Regions from separate parts of the Homo sapiens genome. Here region 1 is linked to region 2. Evidence: promoter capture Hi-C in 16 types of primary human blood cells and fetal thymus (Javierre and others, 2016). All regions are on one chromosome and are shown on one strand. The core of a region is centred on a gene start or on the middle of the fragment in contact, and the rest is flanking DNA. Distances in the headings are between cores, read along the strand shown. Region 1 overlaps BHLHE40-AS1 (BHLHE40 antisense RNA 1). Region 2 holds the start of EGOT (eosinophil granule ontogeny transcript).

Region 1 (3,617 bases), core at 1,027-3,526, 150 kb after region 2:
TGCAGGAATCTCTCCTCTCTCCCTCTGTATACACTCCTCATCATGGTCTCCAGCCTACGACCTTCTCCTCTCTTTCTGGCCTTAGAATCTACCCTTTAGCCTCCCCGGGTGCTTCTGAAATGGAATCACTCACTGGTTCCAGGACACAGCGCTGACCCCCTCTGCATCTCACCCACCCTTATTCATCAAAATCTCTTTTTATCTTCAAGGTTCATCTAAAGAAAACCTGCTAAGAAGCCACCCCCTATTTCCCCACCAAACCTGGTCTCTCTTCCTTTGAAGCCCTTATCTGGCGCCATCTTATTTTGCCTTTTGCTTACTAGGCTCTTGCCCTGAGGATGCAGATTGTAAATTGATTAGGGGCAGGGATGGTTTTACTCACCTTTGCTAGTCTGAGATGGCACACTGACTGCGCACAGTAGGGGAGCTGCTGACTACAGGAGTGGGTGAACTTTTTTTGCAAAGGATCGGTTAGGAAATATTTTAAGCTTTGCTGGCCACAAATGCTCTCTGCTGATTCTTCTTCCTTTTCTGCAACCCTTTAAAAATGTAAAAAATCATTCTTAACTCCAAAAAATCAGCTGGGGCCTGGATTTCTCATATGGTGAAAGATCAATTGCAGCACATAGTCCAAATACATTTTGGGGCCCAAATACATTTTTGTACTTAAAAAAATCTCTAAAATTACACACTATGGTATCTGTATTTATTTTGTTTAAAACTCCAGTCAATTAAAACATGGATGAAACCCAGCATTTATAAAGGTGAAAGTAGGAACTTGCAAAATCCATGCATACGTCTTTGTGCATCATTAAAGGGCCAAATTCCTTCAGCTTTACATAGATTCTTCCATGGCTGATGAGGTCTCATGGCTTTTTAGGAAGTGGGATAATAAAACTAGCTCTGCCACACTGATGGGATTTTTTTAAGGTGTCCCAAAATGTTTCATTTGTCTCATCAATGACTGCTGTGAAACAGGATCTTGGACAAGTTAACACTTTATTTTATTTTATTATTTGAGACTGGGTCTTGCTCTGTCACCCAGGCTGATGTGCAGTGGCAGCAACATGGCTCACCGTAGCTCAACCTTCTAGGCTCAAGGGATCTTCCCACCTCTCAGCTGGGACTACAGGGGTGCATGCCACCACTCCTGGATAATTTTTGTATTTTTTGTAGAGACAGGGTTTCACCATGATGCCCAGGCTTTGTCTTGAACTCCCAGGCTCAAGTGATCCTCCTGCCTTGGCCTCCCAAAGTTCTGGTATTACAGGCATGAGCCACCATGCCCAGCCACAAGTTAACATTTTTAATGCCTGAAACTCCAGAAAGAAGGACAAAGTAATGGTCCCTTTAAAGTCTCACTGACCTGGGTTACCATCAGTGCCCACACAATGCCATTCACACCCCCTCCCTAAATCCAGGAATACTGCAAAGCAATATTTAGTCATTTCGTGGTGGCTCATGCCTATAATCCCAGCACTTTCTGAGGCGGGCAGATCACAAGGTCAGGAAATCAAGACCATCCTGGCCAACATGGTGAAACCCTGTCTCTACTAAAAATACAAAAATTAGCTGGGCGTGGTGGCGCGTCCCTGTAATCCCAGCTACTCGGGAGATTGAGGCAGAAGAATCACTTGAACCAGGGAGTTGGAGGTTGCAGTGAGCCAAGATGGCACCACTGCACTCCAGCCTGGTGACAGAGCGAGACTCGGTCTCAAAAAAAAAAAAAAGTTTAGTCATTTCCTGCATCATGACATCATAGCCTTCCCCTATTAAGTTATCTAACTGAGTTACAGTTCAAACCGCTGTTTCCATATCAGGAGCTGTTTGGTTTAACATCTCTTCAGCAAAGGTACCATGGGAGCTTTTCAGAAAACTTCAGCTTAATATTCCAACTTATTTTCCTGAGGAGATCCAGCTGTGAATAATAGTGTTGATTCGGTATCGCTGATCATTTGCCAGAATGTGCGATTTGTAAAACTTTGGCAGGGAAAATTGTATTACAGATGTTACATTGGAAAACCTCTGAACTGCCGTGAAATGTAATTGTGTGTTGGAGGGCACGTCATGTCGTTAGCAGGCTGAGTTTACTCTGTTTGGGTGAACAGTGCACATACACTACAATGGGTAGCTGCTCTGTTTATATGAAAGTCAGAGAGACAGAATAATAATCCAACCCTCGAAGACAGCTATAATTACAGCATGTTGACTCCGTCCCCTTGACAGGGAAGCTGCAATGTTTCAAATAGAAAGCTCCATTAGCTAGGTGACCAATTAAGGAAGCAGAAAACAGCGAGAAGGAGGTATAAAATTATCTTGTTAAAATTCTCTTCAAAAATAGAGATATTTAACACATAACAAGAATATACAGTCTAAGGCAGTAGAGAATTTTATTTAAAAATAACCTTGTCCTGTAAAAGTAAAGCTGATCTACGATAAACTGTTCAAATATCTGTATCCCATTTAGAGACAAAGGACCAGGCTGAGCAACATAGTGAGATCCTGTCTCTACAACAAATTAAAAAAGAAAAAATAGCCAGATGTGGTGGCACAGGCTTGTGGTCCCAGCTACCTGCAACTCTGAGGTGGGAGGATCTCTTGAGCCCAGGTGATTAAGGCTGCAGTGGGCTATGATCGGGCCACTGCACTCCAGCCTGGGTGACAGAGTGAGACCCTGTCTTAACAACAGAGAGAGAGAGAGAGAGAGAGAGAGAGAGAGAGAGAGAGAGAGAGAGAATGGGCTTTCATGCTAGAAATAGCTATAATTTTTTTTAAAAAATAATGTGATATTTACTTATATTTTATATTTAGAAAATGTCATTTCCTACATCTAAAATGGCTTTTGAAAATGGAAAAGCAACCAACTGAAATTGTATTGAATTAATTATATCAATACTTTCTAAACTTCCAACAGCTCTGGTGAATCACTATTTCCTATTCTATTGTTTTTTACTATATGGTTGTTTCACATTTTGGAAATAAGTGAGAAGAAACAGTAGAAAATAGACTGTTTGATTTGGTTTTGAATCCTTTGCCTGGATGTATCTGGATTCAAGGTCTATTAGGCTGAATCATATGAAATTGCTGCTTATTTAGTTAAAATGACATCAAATATTGGCAATTTCATAAGTGGTTGCTGGCTACCACTTCAGTGTTTCTTCTGTTATCTCTGTGATAAAGTCTTTGGTCCTTGTCAATTGGCCATGGGTAAATGGGACAATTACAGGATAAAAACTTTATTCTTGGATAATAGGGTAATAAACAATAATAATAACAGGTAGAAAATAGATAATAACAGATAATTGATATACAGATATTAGCTAGGTAATAGGTAGGTAGATAAAAATAATAGTATCGATAGAATTTCTGCTGCAAGGTTTGTATGTCTACAGAAGAGTCTTCTCTTCCTTCCAGTCTTTTGGAAAAAAAAGTAGACACTTTCTCACTATGTTGCCCAGGCTGGCCTCAAGTTTCTGGGCTCAAGCAATCCTCCTACCTTAGCCTCCTGAGTAGCTGGTACTATAAGCATTCATCCCCACACCCACCAGCTAGCAAGCATTCTTTTAACCTTCTGCAAGTAAGAGGTTTTGACGCCCTTCATTTCATTCTTTTATTTG
Region 2 (3,616 bases), core at 57-2,556:
TCCTAACTTGGATGGCCATGCAGAGCACCCTTAACTTGGAAATCTATATCCTGCTGTTTAAACTTCAAGATGATTCCTATCTGGATTAAAGTCCTCAACCAGCAGGCCGAGGCAAACTCTAAAGAAAAACAAGGTCATGCTGCATTTTTTTTTGGTAAGCACAGGAATCAACAAAGAGATGTTATATAACTTCTATTTATATCCTCCTTGCTCACTATCTGCAGGCAGACAAGAGTCGCTGAGAAGGGATTTAATGAGCTCTCTGGGTTTGCTCACCTTCCTGAGCTGGTAGGAACCAGCTTGTTCTCAAATGCGTCAGTAAAGAATCTGGCTGTGGGTGGGCGGCCAGGGTAGGTGGACTGCGTTGTTGCTATGGTGTTTTTTAATTCCCCTGTCTCTCAAAGATCTCACTCCCCCCTTCCCTGACTCCTTCCTTTTGCCCCCTTCCTTTCTTTCTTTCTTTTTTTTTTTAAATCTGTAAGCTTCCTTGTTTCTCACACCTACTCATGATTCTTGGAGCTGTCTCCGGAAACAGAATATTTTCCCTCTCCTTCCTAAGTGCTCAGCTCCCCCATTGTGTAGCCCCGGGACATCAGAAGTTGTTTTCTAAGGTGTGTTTTTTCCACCCTCCCTTATTTCTTTTCCCATGATTTTTTTATTACCAATCCCTCCATGAGAGAGACCTATCCTAGGAGTCTTCCATCTTGCCTGATAGAAGTTTTCTCTGGCATATTCCAAATTCAGATTGCTCCAAAACCAGGTGAAGTCTGTTGCTAGTTGGACAGTCGGTATGGCCTGGAGGAGAAGGGCTGTTTGTATTTCCATGCATCCTCCTTTGTCCTCTTGCCCTGGGTGAAGCAATGACGTCTCTGTCTCCTCTAGTGCGTTATAAAATAGAACCGCAAGAAAACAAGAGAATGGGTTTACCCCACAATCATAATTCCTGGAGCTTGGGTAACTCCTGTTACCTGAAGGTTGCAGGTTGAAATGACTCAGCTTGCATTTAATTAAAAAAAAAAATGCTGCCCCATCAGATTCTCAGCAGGGACGACGAATGCACCTTGCTGAGAACCCTATGGCTGCCCAGGGAGTGGCCCCCTGCACCCTGGCCGGCCTGGTGGTGGCCACAGAGGCTTCTGAGATGGCTCTGTGTTGTCCATCACATTCCCACCAGAGCAGAGACACTTAGAAGATGTGAGTAGGGAGGTTAGGATGAAAAGTTCTTAGAAAAGAATATGTAGTTCCATGAGGACAGGCTGAAAAAATTTTTAAAAAGCCAAACCCACCTCTGCCTTGCCCAGAAGTTGTGCAATCCTTAATAGCAGTAGCCTGTTTGAATAATCAGAGGCAAGCTGACTTCCCTTTATTAACTTCTGTTAGAGACATCTGCATAAAATATCCCCGGATTCCAGACCAAGTAGGTAATTTTTTTTTCCCCTCTGAGTAACGGGAGGGACTTTCCCTTTGGAAATCTTCCAGCAGAGTTAACTTCATGGTTGAGACTGTTTTCTCATTATAAGGTGCCAACAGCTAGATTCCTGATGCAGGGACAGTGAAGGCGCCTCATGTACACACTTGGATCCCCTGCTTCCCTGAGAACTGACTTGATGTTCACAGTTGCCTCTGGTTCTTCTGCCTTGACCCTCCTTTTCACGGAGAAATCTATGCCCGCTCACATTTCCTGAGGTCCTCTGAGTTCCTCTTTGAAACTGTCAGAGGCTCTCTCAAAGTTTCTACCAATTTCCTATTCCTGGGTTTTAGACTTTTGATCAAGATGGCTCTGACACTGAAGGGGATAGTCCTGTAAACCCTCTGAAGTCTTCAAGCCTCGTTTTTCCCCTGGAATTCAGGACTTTAAAAATATATATATTTTATTGCTCTTCGAGGAGGATGTGTTGCAGTTGCCCTCACCATATGGTATTTGAGAAATATGTTTTTATTAGCCTCCTTGCAACACAAACCCACAAACTGTTGAGCCCAGAGCTTGTAGCTATCAAGTCTGGGGAGGGAGCCAGGTTTGGAGACGGAAGGTGCACAAATGATCATCCCTCCCGGGCTGTAGTTAATCATGCAAGCTGCTGTGTCACTGGGGCCGGGGTAGTTAACAGTTAACTCGATGGATTAAGGATCCTCAGCCAGGCTGAGCCCATCACAGAGTTACGTGCAAAAACCGGATAAGCCCGTAGAGGTGACAACACCACATCAGCTGCCTTTGGCTGGTCTGCGGTGTGCTGCATATTCCCACTTAGCAGGACTTTGAGCTTTCACATGCAGGCTTCTTCTGGCCATAAAGTTATACTTCAGCTGCCATGGATGCAAAGCTTGGCTTGAGTGTTTCGGAATTGCACCTCCTTCAGGATTATTGTTCATTCATTAATATAGTAAATTTTTTAAAAAGAGAGAAGAGGCCTTACTGTGTTGACCAAGCTGGCCTTGAACTCCTGGGCTGAAGAGATCTTTCTGTCTCAGCCTCCGGAGTAGCTAGAACTACTGGCTTGTGTCACCACAGCCGGCTTAATATAGCAGATGTTTACTTACTGAGCACTCCCTGGGTGTCAGGTGCTATACACATTGGCGTCAATACAGTCAGGGATGAGACCAACATAGCCCCTGCCCTCCAGGAGCTTACAGTCTTGTGGGAGACAGAGCTAGGAAATCAGCTCATCATCAGCTAAATCAGAGCTTCAGAGAAGTGTGATGGGGAAGCAAACAGGCGCCACGAAGCGTGGCCAGGGAGGGCTTCTCTGGGGAGATACCGTTCAAGCTGAGACCCAACAGATGCGAAGAGAAGGAGCTGTGTGAAGAGTAGCAGAGGGCAAGAGTATTTCAGAAGAGGGTTGGCTTGTGCTTGGGATGTTGGAGGAGCTGAGTGAAGGAAGCTAACGCGGTCTACCCCATGGTGGTCGGTCAGGGGCAGAGCTGCGGAAAGTATCTGCTCCACCAGGGTGATGGGCTTGTCATCAAGTCGGGGCTGGATGAGGTGATCTCTGTGGTTCCCGCCGATCCCTAGTCGGTGCTTCTAAAGGGCACCAAGTTGGCTTGGGCCTGTCCCCTGCTTGGATATGCGCTGCCGCCGCCAAAGCCCTAATATACAAAGCAGCTTTACCCAGATGAGTGCTGTGTGATTTCACCCTGCCCTGCTCTAACCGCTTGGCCATCTGTACATCTTACTGTCAGCTGCCAGGGATGCTCTCTGTGGCCGTGTGGAAGTTACCTGGTGGGCCAGCACACAGCAAGATGGGGATGCAGGGTGGGGAGACATGAAGAGTCCCAGAGCATTCTGCTGGGGACCAGACTCGGCTGTACCCGAGAGTCAGTTGAGTTGGGAAGGACTAGGGTTGACTGGGGGTGACTGCAGTCTTCATCAAGGAGGCACTTGCTTTGCTTGATGCTTTGCCACCTAAGCCAGTGTCCTTGCCTCCATCCGGCCTGAGTGGATTTATTTTTTTCGGCTTCTATGGCCAAGTGTCCTTGTCACAGTTTGTGTGGAGAGCAGCGAAGGGAACGTGGCTGGTGTAGACACCCTGCCGGTACTGTGCGGGCTCTCACCTGTTTTCTCTCCTGCACTCCTTGCAATAGAATCTCAAGTGGTTCTCCTCCTCTTTCTCCATTGCAG

Evidence for each region. Contacts are between HindIII fragments. The CHiCAGO score rates a contact against its expected background, and 5 or more counts as called.
Region 1: a fragment that was not itself captured here is called in contact with the fragment with the promoter of EGOT in region 2 in 12 of 17 cell types (activated CD4 T cells, endothelial precursors, M2 macrophages and 9 more); the score reaches 15.4 in activated CD4 T cells.

What each region holds. Positions count from the first base shown.
Region 1 is chr3:4,900,159-4,903,775 of GRCh38, forward strand. It overlaps BHLHE40-AS1 (BHLHE40 antisense RNA 1), which reads right to left. Exons shown (of 3, transcript NR_125916.1): 2 at 383-539. Among named protein-coding and RNA genes, the nearest start is that of BHLHE40, 77 kb to the right of the region's middle. The HindIII fragment of the contact is 3,580 bases long and covers 487-3,617 here.
Region 2 is chr3:4,750,284-4,753,899 of GRCh38, forward strand. It overlaps EGOT (eosinophil granule ontogeny transcript), which reads right to left and starts at 1,307. Exons shown (of 2, transcript NR_004428.1): 1 at 663-1,307. The region is part of intron 44 of ITPR1 (inositol 1,4,5-trisphosphate receptor type 1); the gene reads left to right. The HindIII fragment of the contact is 1,839 bases long and covers 481-2,319 here.